Linked DNA regions of Homo sapiens: all the other regions are linked to region 2. Evidence: promoter capture Hi-C in 16 types of primary human blood cells and fetal thymus (Javierre and others, 2016). All regions are on one chromosome and are shown on one strand. The core of a region is centred on a gene start or on the middle of the fragment in contact, and the rest is flanking DNA. Distances in the headings are between cores, read along the strand shown.

Region 1 (3,201 bases), core at 1-2,500, 240 kb before region 2:
GGAGTGGAGGACGTGGGAAAGAGTAGTGAGAAGTGACAAAATAATACATTTGGTTGGGAGGAGTAATAGTTTTTTACTTTAAGTGTTTATATTTATTTATTTTTTAATTAAGAACAATAACAGGAACATCTAGAAGACAGCAGTGTGCTAAAATAGGAATTTGAAGGATGTGTATGTGCATTACATGGTTCTAGAAGAAACCCTCAACATAGATATTTATGGAATTTAAGATTTTAGGAAGTAGTTGTATTTAATGGATACATTTGATGTTTATACCCCTTTTAATCTGTATACTCTTAAAAGCAACCAGCATAGTGAACTTGTTCTAGTGGTATTTTGAGTTCAAATTGAAAGTAGAAACAGAAAATAGAAGCTTCATATGAAGGGATCAAAGACAGATTTGTATGGTTTGTGTCTGTTTTGAAAAGATAGGCAGCATTAAAAGATTTTTTGAAAAAAGATAAAAATGTAGTTTGGAAATGTGGCCAGTCCCTTTCATAGCCAAACGGTTTGCTTTCTTCTTCATAGCTGTTGCAGCAGCCGCAGCTTCAGCAAATGGAGCAGCTGGTGGTCTTGCTGGAACAACAAATGGACCATTTCGCCCTTTAGGAACACAGCAGCCTCAGCCCCAGCCCCAGCAGCAGCCCAATAACAACCTGGCATCCAGTTCTTTCTACGGCAACAACTCTCTGAACAGCAATTCACAGAGCAGCTCCCTCTTCTCCCAGGGCTCTGCCCAGCCTGCCAACACATCCTTGGGATTCGGAAGTAGCAGTTCTCTCGGCGCCACCCTGGGATCCGCCCTTGGAGGGTTTGGAACAGCAGGTAGAAATTAGACTGATATGCTCTTAAGACTGAATTTTAATTATTTTTACAATCCTTCTGGAATACTGGCAATGCATGGAACCACAGGCAGATCTGGACCAAGCCTTGTGGGAATCCAGCCATCCCACATAATCTGTGAGATGATAGACTATTGAAATCAAGTTATACAGATGGGACCTATTTCAATCCATGCTCATGTGGCTACTTACTTAATCAGTTTCTTTCAGGGATTTGAAATCTAGGGAAGATTTTTGCTGTATTTGGGAAAAATATTGAGGGAACTGTAGAAATTGATATCAAAAACTGAGGGAGGAGGACTTACTAAAGATAGCAGAGCTGAAATACTCCACAATTGAGACTGAGCCGAGTTCTTGGCCTGCAGGCCTTAAAGAGTTACAAGTTTTCTTCAGTCTTTTGAGTAGAATTTAAGGTAGACATGTGGAAAATTAGGAGGAAGGATATTAGACCAAGATATTTTTAATGTTTTGATGAAAAAAGCAGGAGTGTAGTATGGTGAATAATGGGATAATTGCAGAGATTATAAAAAACAAACAAACAAAAGTGATCCCTAAATAGAAGGGCATGTGTGAAAGAAAGTATCTTAATTGGAATTGAGGGCAGCATTAACTCTCGATTGAACCCACTGAGAAAACAGGCTTTCATATAGAAGTCTTGTGTAGTGGGGCAGTACCCCATTTACAAATCTTTTTTCTGTATCCCATTTTTCTACTTGAACCTTTTCAATTGATGAAAGGCATTCTTCTAGTCCATTTTCTTCCACCTTTTCCATAGTTCATGTGGCCGTCAGAGCTTTTTAACCCTCCCTTATCCTATAATATACGACACCATAGGAAGGTAAATTTGGCATATGTTTGATGGTCATGTTAACCTGAGCCATGTCCTCTTTATTACTTATCTGCCCCTAGTACTGCTACATTAACAGTTAGGCTGTCTCTGCTGACAAATTTGCGGTGGTAAGGAGTCTGGATCAAAGTGTTAGGAACAGGTCACTGGGCTTGTTCTTCGAAGAACAGGCCTGTTCTTATCTGCATTGTTTTAATTCCATTTTAGTTGCAAACTCCAACACTGGCAGTGGCTCCCGCCGTGACTCCCTGACTGGCAGCAGTGACCTTTATAAGAGGACATCGAGCAGCTTGACCCCCATTGGACACAGTTTTTATAACGGCCTTAGCTTTTCCTCCTCTCCTGGACCCGTGGGCATGCCTCTCCCTAGTCAGGGACCAGGACATTCACAGACACCACCTCCTTCCCTCTCTTCACATGGATCCTCTTCAAGCTTAAACCTGGGTAAGAACCATTACTCTAACACCACCTTGAACTCTAGAACTCTCTTGCCACCGATGACATTACAAGAACTTTGCATAAGCAAAGGACAGTCCCTTTATACTAGAAGTGTCCTGGGTGTTCTGTGCCTTCCGTAAATACCTCATGTTATTCAGGCTGTACCTATAGATAGTATAGCAGTTTTGGCTTTATTATAGTTTGGGTACATTCCCTGTATATTCAGTTAGCTTTAGTATGAACATTTTATTCTTTGGCTACCTGTGAGAGTATTTCAATGTAAACAATATAAACACAGGTTCATTTCAGTGAAGCTAGGAAACACAGAGACAGAATTTAATCACCTAGTATCACCACCTGAAATACCACCACAATTAATATTTTGCCTTATTTCCTTTCAAAATTTCCCCTCTGCTATATGTACATATAATATCTTGCTTTTTCACAAAAAGCATTTTATTTTTAAAATTTTGCCATATTTTAAAATATTTGTAAATATAAACTCTCAAACCATATAGTATGTTAATGAGGAGATGTATATTTCCCTATTAAATATTTAGATTGTTTTATGCATGGGATTTTAAAATATTACCATCTAGATTCTAGAAAATAGGGAGAGAAAAAGAGGATCCCAAGCAGCAGGCTATAAGAATGAAAAGAAAATTATATTACCTTTTTTTTGGTGGCAAATCTCTAAATCTTTCAGGACATGGGAGATGTTTTCTTATCTCAAGCATGGTGCATACTCCTCTCCCGCAGTTATGTATTAAGTTTAAAGTACTGATTTATTTGCTAGATGGGGAAAATTGAATGCTAGATGTAGAGTCACCATATAATGTATCATGCAAACCAGAACACTTTTGTGAGTGGAAGGGGGTGCTATGAATAATTACTTGGTGATGATAGGCCTAAATCAGGACTGTCCTGGGCAAATCAGCACATGTGGCCACTTTACCAAGAAGATTCTGTTCTTAACCAGCAAGATTAAAAGTGGCTTCATGGACTCAGAAGTGAGAACTTGACTAAAAACAAACAGGATGCCTTCGTTTGGATAGGCAGACTAGAAAGTGATTT
Region 2 (3,138 bases), core at 144-2,643:
AGCAATGACAATCCTTTAACTCCATTTCCACTTCTGTCCCCCTCTTGCCCCTCACATGGGGCAGGCAGATCAAGAACGACCATTCCCACTGCACCATGGCAAGCTGAGGCTCAGAGAGGTTAAGTCACCAGCTCCAGGTCACACAGCCAGTTAGGAGCAGAAGTGGCTTTGAACCTGGATCTCTCAGGTAGCCAAGCCCATGCTCTTTCTGCTCTATCTCATGAACTACTTGACCCAAATGCAAAGAAGGGGATCGTTCCTGCTGATGTTACTTTGTTTAGAAGGCTTTATCTTTGCCTTCTCTGTGCTGGGCCTGATGCAGAGTTGAATCCACTGGCTGACAGGTGAGGTGGGCCAAGCAGGGACCCACAGGGGGAAGAGATGGGCAGGGAGAAGCCACCTACATCAAGCTACACTGAGACAGCAGCATGGCTGAGAGCCGGGCCTGGGGCTCTATCCTGGCAATAACACTTCTTAGCTGTGTAACTTCAGACAAGTTATTTTACCTCTCTGTTCTTTAACAGTAGCTGCTTTAAAAAGTTGTCAAGAGGATTAACTGAGAAACCTCATCTAACTCCTTTGCTCCTTGAATCAACCCTAGGAGGCGCTATTACCATCCCTAGTTTCCAGATGAGCAATCTGAGACATGAGAGGTGAAGTCACTTGCCCATGGTCACACAGGTGGTTTGCTGGTATAGCAAACCCAGGTAACCTGGCTCCCAAGTCTGTGCTCTTAACCATGGTCTCCACTGCCCTGCCCATACTAACAGTGAAGGTACATGTTAGCCCTAATTATGACCTTGAAAGATTCTACAAGGCAGAGAGTTAGTGAGAGGAAAGGATTCTGGGCAGATGGCCCTGCATGTGTGATGGCCTGGAGGCCTTCGAGGAGAATCCAGGGGTAGCTGGAGAGCAGGGCGTGTGCGGAGAGCAGGGCACAGTGAGGCTGGGGAAGGGGAAGTGAATTTAATGAGAAACTTGGGGTTGTGAGTGGGGGAAGGATTTGGGTGTGGGATGAAGGTGCAGGACAGGGCTGGGCCGGGCCATTGGACTCAGGTATGCCTAGGCTTGGGGTGGAGCTTCAAGGCAGCGCGGGCTCCAGCCCCTGGAAGAGCCACCCCCCACCCACCTGAGATTTCCCAAATTCCAGCTGCCGCTCTAGTTGCTTCTGCAAGCAAAGGAGCCCTTGTGGTCAGAGGGGCCTCTGAAGCCTGGGCCAGGCTCTCCCGCCCTCTCAGGGCACACACACCTCCATTCAGCCCAAGCCCCGCCCTTTGGGGGGGCTGGGGGCCAGGGCGGGCTGCCCCCACGTCAGTCGTCAGTTGGGGGCCACCTGACCCAAAGGCTGGGCGGGCAGTGGGGTTGATAAGACCTGGACCCCACTGGTCCCACAACCGTGCCGGCTGCTGCCCGTGCTGCCAGAACTATGAGGGTCCTCTCTGGCACTAGCCTCATGCTCTGCAGCCTGCTGCTGCTGCTCCAGGCCCTGTGCAGCCCTGGCCTCGCCCCCCAGTCCAGAGGTGAGGGGGCTTGCGTGAGATGGGGGCTACTGAGCTAGTGGGCCCTGACCCTCAGCACTGGGGGCTGGGTACCGATATGGCAGGGAGCACACGGGATCCAGGATGGGGAAGGGAGCAGGGCGGCAGTGGTGGGCAGTGGGCTGGTGCAGGAGCAGACAGGGACCATGGTGCTTATAAGGGTCAGGGCAGGGGTGCTCCTCAGCCCTCAGGGACCATGCATGAGGCAGGGACCTTGGTCTTCCAGGTCTCTGGGGAGCAGAAGCTACTCAGAGAGCTGGCTGACGTCTGGAGCTGCACCAAGCCCAGGGCTGAGCCCATGGCTCTTTGATGACAGCAGACCTGGGATGCCAAGAGCTCATGCCCCCTTTGCAGGTCCTTCCAGCCTTGGGCTCCCTGGGGGCAATAACACCCCCCAGAGTTTCAGGTTTGGGCACTGAGTCCTGGAATGCCCATTCTTCCTGTACAGATGGGGAAACTGAGGTCAGTGAGGGCCTAAGACCACACAGTGAGATAGCGCCAGAGCCTCTAGGTTATTGATCTACTGCTGTACGGTGTGGCCAATTCCCTTTCCCTCTTTGGGTCTCAGTTTACCCATTTGTAGCCTTAGCGAGTAGACAGCAGGGAGCCTGCTGCATGGTGATTTCTAAGGTCTCCTGAGGAACTCTGATGTCCAGAGCCCCAGTCTAGGGCACTGTGAGTTACTGTGACTTGGGGGTTGGGACGGCCCTGCACGTTTCCCCTTTCCTCTTTGGGATTGGCTCTGCTCAGTTCAGACTCCGCATGGGATGGGGAGGGAAGGGCCTTTGTAGTGAGACCTTCCTGACTGCAGGCCCAGGCCAGTGACAGTAGCCTTATTCTCTCCACTGGACATGTGAGATCACGGAGGCTCAGAAAGGTGCAATGATCTGCCCAGGGCCCCACAGAGTGGCTGAGCCAGGATTTGAACCCAGGCCTGAACTCACTCTGACCCTGCATACTTCCCAGCACAGGGTGCTGCCTTCTTGGGTCTCTGGAGGACATTGCTCCTCGGGGGTGTGTCTTGGTGTGCACCTGATCAGGCTGCCGAGGTGGCCACCAGGAATTCCTGCTCCTTTTCCCTGTCTTTGGCAACCCGCCAGCAGGCGCTGCCAGGCTGAGGGAAACTGGTTCCACTTTGGTGATTTGCTTTGATGCTCAGATGAAAGAGGCCATGTTGACGGGCACTGCTTTGGCTCTCAAGCCTGTGCCCATGCCTGGAGGGCCCATCCTTGGTGCCCTCCTGCCCAGCTAGAAGAAATAGCTGCCCTTGTTTCTGGCAGCAAGTCTGGGCTGAAACCTAAATGTGTTTTCAAGGCCGCAGGGTCCTTTGCCACCCCTGGAATACTCATTGCTTGCCTGGCCCCCTGCTGGCTCCTCAAAACATCCTGTAAGGAGGGATTGCTAGCTCACTGCTCAGATGAGGAAACTGAGGCTCAGAGAAGTGAAGCAAATGGCCCAAGGCCAGGCTTGGCCCTCTGTGTTCCCCATGGGCTGAGCAGGGGGCCTTTGGCAAGTTGCTTGCTGGTGTCTGCATGTTGATAAAAGGGCTCAGCTGCCCAGCTGAAGTTTGCAGCCTACTGGGCCCGAGGCCTCGCACCTG
Region 3 (2,953 bases), core at 175-2,674, 180 kb before region 2:
CCTGGACATAGGACGAGGACCCCTGAGGGGAACCAAGCATGTGCAGGTGGAGGTGATGGTATGTATGAGGTGACCCTTGAGTGTCCCTTTGAGTGACCGTAGCAGCCATGCTTGGTCCCAGCTCCGTCAGGGATGGCAGAGAAAGGAAGGACCTCATCCCCCTTTGAGGGATCCAGGCCCCAGATGAGTTCTTGTTGGACAAGTGTCCAGGTTCTGGCTCAGGCGGGCTGGGGATTTCTAGGTCCAGCCTCCCAGGTTGGTTCCAGGAGCTATGCTGTCCTGCATCCCCCAGGCTGAAAAGGACCCAGGCCTCTCAAGCAACACTGGGTGCCCAGCCGCCCTCTGCAAGTTCCTTCCCTTTCCCAGCCTCAGTGGGCCAGTCAGTAAGACAGGAGGAGGACAGGCAGGGGCTCCAAGCTTGCTTCTTGGATGGACAGGCCCCTCCTCAGCCTTCCCCATCTAGGGGGCTGTCAGCTGGAGGGAGGGGAAGTGTTGAGGGCTGACCTGTGTGAAGTGCCTGCTGGCCAGGATGTCTCATTCCCAGCTCTCCCCTAAGTGGGGTGAGAGGAAGAGGTCCCTGGGAGGGATAGAGACCCAGCACACCCTAGCAGCTGGGGTCGCCTTCTCAGCCAAATTTCTGAAAGACCATCCTTAAAATCAAAGGCTTGGGAATCACACAACCCTGGGTTCCAATCCTGCTACCCCCGCCGATTCGTGGCATGGTTTGGGCAGGTCCTCTTACTTCTCTGACCCTTGGTTGTCCCTCTGTGAAATGGGGCTAATGACCCCTTCCTCAGAGGGCAAAAATTCAATGGGATGACTGACGAGTGTCCTGAGAAGGAGCTCAGGAGTCATGTGGTGTGCACATGAATGAAAGGGGCTCAGGACAGAAAGCTTTAGACTTGGAGGCCAGGTGGAGCGCTGGGCAGGCCACTTTCCTTGCTGAATAAGGCTAATAATTCATACTCCACGAGGTGGTGGAAGGACTTAGTGAGAGCATTTAATAGCCTCATGCACAGTAGGGCCTCGCAACACGGGTGACCTGAATCTGAGAGGTGTGGCTCAGACCCAGTGTTGGGTGGCAGATCAAGCAGACCCTGGGAGTCTGAGCCCAGAGGCTGAAATGGTGGGTGGGGCCTGGGGGAGGGCAGGTACTGGGGCGCCTGGTGAGGTGGTGGGAAGTGGAGTGTCCTCCAGGCCTCACATCTTCCCATGGGTCAAGCTGTCAAGGAGGGGCATCATCCCTCTTGTCCTCATCTGACTTGGGAGGAAAAGGGTTAATGGGTGGTACCTGGTTGCCGGGGTTCCGCACCAGAGGGAGAGGGCAGTGCCTGCAGCAGGAGGGACTGAGGTTAGATCAGAAGAGCCCCAGCCAGGGAAGCTCCAGGGGTGGCCTTGGTAGATGAGCGGTGGCTGGCACAGGGCAGGGAAGGGCAGGGACATGATGACCCTTGGGTCACCTGCCAGCCTTTGTGTGTGTGTGTGTGTGTGTGTGTGTGTCTTCGTGTCTTTCAGCATGGGGATAGCAGGGAGAGCAGGCCTCATTCACACTGCAGATGGTGAATTGCAGTGTGTGTGTGTGTGTGTGTTTGTGTGTCTGTGTCTGTCTCCTGGCATCTCCTTTGAGGAGTCCCTCTTCTGACAGACCAAGTTACCAGGACTCTGAGGGACATCTGCCTTTAAGGCCACCTCAGCTACTGTACTTAAGTCACCACTCAAAGTTTTGGAGTGTGAGGATCCTGAACATTTTAGCTTTTGAAACATGTTCTTTCAAAAGTCCAGGGCTGGAAGGGATCTTAGGTGTTAGTCTTGTTTGAATACTCCCAGTGATGGGAGACCACTACCTTGTGGCTGTGTGACCTTGTGAAAGTTACCTAACCTCTCTGTGCCTTAGTTTCCACCTCTTTAAAATGGAGACAATGCGAGAATGGAAGGGCTTAATTTGGAAAGCTTTTAGCCCAGTGGCTGGCACCTACTAAGGGCTCAACAAATATGGATTTCTTGTTCTTTTACAAAGTTGCTGTACTGTGGTTGGGAAGGCAGGAGGGGTGGGGAGTGGAAGGGTGGGAGACGTGTGTGTGTGTGTGTGTGTGTGTGTGTGTGTTTGTGAGAGAGAGAGAGTACGGATGGGGGTGGGGGTGGGGGTGGGGTGGGGTGGGGGAATTAGTAGGGAATTCTTTTGAAGCTCAGCCCCAGGCCTGGTGGTTTCCGTTCCTTCCTCACCCTGTTTCAAGCATCCCTGCTCTTCTCCCCTCCAGGCTCCCCTGGGTGACTGTGAGCCTTGGGTTTCCAGGATGAGATAGTCCTCACCAAAAAAATGGAAAGTTGGGGGCCCCTGGGCTGTTCTGGGCCAGGCTCTTGGGTGAACCATCTCCCCTTCCAGCATTTGGGGGACAGGCACAGGGACACCACAGCTGTATGCTGCCTGTTAGCTCCCAAGGTACCAGGGGCTCTGGGGACAGACACCTGCTGTGTGATTTCCAGTGAGGGATTTCTTTCTGTCTCAAAGTCCTTGTCTATAAAATGCGGACAGTAATGGTGTCAGCCTCACAGGGATGTTGTGACTTGGAAATGAGCTGCTTGAGTAGACCGAGCACACCTGCCACGTAGTGAGCTCTCAGGAGATGGGACCTTTCTGGGAGGGAGCATGGATGGGGTCAGGGAAGGCTTCCTGGAGGAGGAGGGTTTTGAGCTAAGCAATGAAAGTGGTCATCACATGACAGTAGCAGGCTGTAACCTGCCCTGACCCTCAGCTTTCTTACCTGTCAACTGGGGGCAACAAATACTTGGCTTTTAGAATCACTACTGGGGGCTGTGACTCTATCCTCAAGGCAGGGCTGGGATTTGAACCTGAAGCCTCCTGCTCTCTGGGGAGGAGTGAGCACAATGCCTCCAGCTGTGAGTTCAGTGTGTTGGGGGTTGGTGCGAGGTGAGCTGTGCTGGAAAAAAAAGT
Region 4 (3,009 bases), core at 8-2,507, 140 kb before region 2:
CTTCTCCCCTTCTCTCTTGAGTTCTAGTGATGTGATTTTATTTTCAGCTTGGAGGAGTAGAAAGAGCATGGTCTTGAAGTCAAGCAGACTCTTTGCTCTACCTCTCTGAGCCTCGATTTCCTTGAAGGCAAATGAGGACAATAAGGTTGGTATTTGGAGGCATGAAGCATGGCATACATGCCCATCTGTAGCTGGATTTCTATTCTTCTCTTTGCAGCACCTACGTTTTACCAGGCAAACCTTTATTCAAATCCTAGCTCTGTCAGTGACTAGCTATGTGACCTTGGGTGAACAATTCAAACTCAGTGCTCAGTTTCCTCACTTGTAAAATGGGGGCAATACTAGTACTGGCCTCATATGCATAGTGCTTAGAACTATGGCAGGCATAGAGTAGGTGCTGTACAAATGTGGGCAATTATTACTGCTGTTGTTGTATTGTTATTACTGTTATTCTTATTTGCAGGGCCCAGCACACTGCCTATTGATTGAACAAGTGATACTGAGCTTGGGTAGAAATCAAACTATCAGGGTCAGCTCTAGTATGAACTATGACTTAGGCTTGTTAGAGCCAAGGGCAGAGCCTGGAAACCATGTATTTGGGCACAGATAGGCTGGGCACTGCTGGAAGTTGGAGCACTTCCCTCTGGGCCCCCTCACCCAAGATATGAGCAACAGAATCAAGAGGGAAGGAGGAAGAATAGCTGATTGTTTCCTGCAGCCCAAGAGGTCACAGCCACCCAGCCCAAGCTTCCCTGAGAACAGAGTGTGCTCAGCTTCCAGGGCCGCCCACCCTGCCTCTGCCGGCCTGAGGGTGGGCTCAGAGCACGAGGATCTAGGTTTATCACCACCAGATAACCAGTAGGGATGAGAGAGGGCAGACAGCAAGAGGAATAGGGTGAGGCACTATGCCAGGTACCAGGTATCATGTTAGCTCATTTAAGCCCCAGGTCTGGTCTCTTGGCCTGTTGTTGCAAATGGAGCAACTGAGGCTCAAACAGCAGAATCCCAAAGCCCTAGAGCAATTGGAAGGTGCGGTGGGATTCTGCTGTCTCCTCCCTACCAAGAGCTAGCTGTGAGGGTGGGCAGGTTACTAAGCTTCTCTGAACCTCAGTTATATCACCAGAACAACAGGAGCACTAGGAGTTTGAAAGCCTCTAACGAAGCATTAACACACAACCTTTGTGGGATGCCTTCCAATTATCGTCGTTCATTCATAGACATTATCTTATTTAATTCTTGGAGACAATTATTACCCCCATTTTATCATAAACAATGTGTTTACAATAAACACATTGGCCTTATCAGCAAAATCCACACTGTGGGATACTCTATAGGAAAAACAATCCAGTTTTTTTTCAACACATAAATTATAAGGAAGACAAAAAAAAGAGAGAGATGGAGAATTTATAGATAAGCTTAAATGAAATGTTAACTAATCAATGTGGGAACCTGATTCAGATCCTGATTCGAACAAATTATATTTTTAAAATGCTCCAGTTATGAGGCAAGTGGAAATTGAACTCTGAGTGAATGAGTAAAAACATAAATATATATATTTTTATATATATATTTTCTCTTTTTTTGAGACAGGGTCTCATTCTGTCGCCCAGGCTGGAGTGCAGTGGTCTGATCATGGCTCACGGCAGCCTCGAGCTCCCCGGGCTCAGGTGATCCTCTTACCTCAGTCTCCCAAATAGCTGGGACTACAGGTGCTCGCCACCATATCCGACTAATTTTCATATTTTTTGTAGAGACATAGTTTTGCCATGTTGTCCAGGCTGGTCTCAAACTCCTGGGCTCAAGTGACCGAGTGAATATTTGTTATTAAGGATTCATTGTCAATGCTCTTAGATGTGATAAGGGCCCTGTAGTTATGGTTTTTTTTTTTTTTTTAAATGAATCCTTACCTTTTAGAGATACAGACTGAAATATTTGTAGATGAAGTGACAGGGTGTCTGGAATTGACTTCAAAATAATATGGGGAGGAGTGGGTGAGGGAATGGAGGAAATAAGTTGGGGCTTGAGTTGATCGTTATAGACGCTGAGTGATGGGCACATAGGGGCTTCATTATATTATTCTATCTACTCTAAGTTTACATTTTAAATTCTCCATAATAAAGTGCTTTAAAAGAAAAGAAAGCGGCCGGGTGCAGTGGCTCACGCCTGTAATCCCAGCACTTTGGGAGGCTGAGGCAGGCAGATCACGAGGTCAGGAGATCAAGACCATCCTGGCTAACACAGTGAAACCCAGTCTCTACTAAAAATACAAAAAAATTAGCCAGGCAAGGTGGCGGGCACCTGTAGTCTCTGCTACTCTGGAGGCTGAGGCAGGAGAATGGCGTGAACCTGGGAGGCAGAGGTTGCAGTGAGCTGAGGTTGTGCCACTGCACTCCAGCCTGGGCGACACAGCGAGTCTCCATCTCAAAAAAAAAAATAAAATAAAATAAAATAAAATAATAAAAAAAAGTAAAAGAAAGCAATTCCCAGAGGGGCCTGAGGTTGCACCCCCAGGAAATGCAGAGCTGGCTCCCCTGCTGCAAGTCTAGGGCCCTGGCCACTCGCCCAACCCCTGCCTGTGAACTCCCGCAATGCCCTATTTTCCTCGGCTCTACGTCATCCACTTCCAAGTGGTCAGTGCCTTCATGGACCCTGTTCCCTCCCGTTTTATGAAAACTGACTCTTATGAATGGCTCTGTTGAAATAATTTGCATGAAATTGTCATGACTGACGCGTGGCTTTAGCTATTTCCCTCCTCCAGAGGTGTTTGTCCATTGCCAGAGAAAGTAGCAAAAGCAGCCCTTCCCAAGTGAGCCATGTGTTTCAGCTCATGAAGCACTGTTCAGGAAGTCCTTGGTCTTGCTTGCCATTCACATCAGTCCTGGGAGATGGGCTGGCTGGGGATTACTCCTCCCACCTTGGAGGACATTAGGTTTGTTCATCACCATCCCCTACCCTCACTGCCCACCCCTGCCCATTTTCAAGGCTCTGGCCAAGTCTAGACCTTTATCT

What was found. The method cuts DNA at HindIII sites, captures the fragments that hold promoters and counts their contacts. A CHiCAGO score of 5 or more calls a contact.
Region 1: a fragment that was not itself captured here is called in contact with the fragment with the promoter of MATN1 in region 2 in 2 of 17 cell types (total B cells and monocytes); the score reaches 5.9 in total B cells.
Region 3: a contact is called between a fragment that was not itself captured here and the fragment with the promoter of MATN1 in region 2, in 13 of 17 cell types (megakaryocytes, monocytes, naive B cells and 10 more). The highest score is 11.1, in megakaryocytes.
Region 4: a fragment that was not itself captured here is called in contact with the fragment with the promoter of MATN1 in region 2 in 1 of 17 cell types (monocytes); the score reaches 5.3 in monocytes.

What each region holds. Positions count from the first base shown.
Region 1 is chr1:30,963,606-30,966,806 of GRCh38, reverse strand. It overlaps PUM1 (pumilio RNA binding family member 1), which reads left to right. Exons shown (of 22, transcript NM_001020658.2): 13 at 529-825; 14 at 1,897-2,133. Among named protein-coding and RNA genes, the nearest start is that of SNORD103C, 3.0 kb to the left of the region's middle. The HindIII fragment of the contact is 1,749 bases long and covers 376-2,124 here.
Region 2 is chr1:30,721,840-30,724,977 of GRCh38, reverse strand. It overlaps MATN1 (matrilin 1), which reads left to right and starts at 1,393. Exons shown (of 8, transcript NM_002379.3): 1 at 1,393-1,520. The coding sequence starts at 1,427. All of the region lies in intron 2 of MATN1-AS1 (MATN1 antisense RNA 1), which reads right to left. The HindIII fragment of the contact is 11,974 bases long and covers 1-3,138 here.
Region 3 is chr1:30,904,508-30,907,460 of GRCh38, reverse strand. The region is part of intron 1 of SDC3 (syndecan 3); the gene reads left to right. Among named protein-coding and RNA genes, the nearest start is that of SDC3, 2.8 kb to the left of the region's middle. The HindIII fragment of the contact is 1,056 bases long and covers 897-1,952 here.
Region 4 is chr1:30,864,544-30,867,552 of GRCh38, reverse strand. No RefSeq gene overlaps it. Among named protein-coding and RNA genes, the nearest start is that of LINC01778, 41 kb to the right of the region's middle. The HindIII fragment of the contact is 320 bases long and covers 1,098-1,417 here.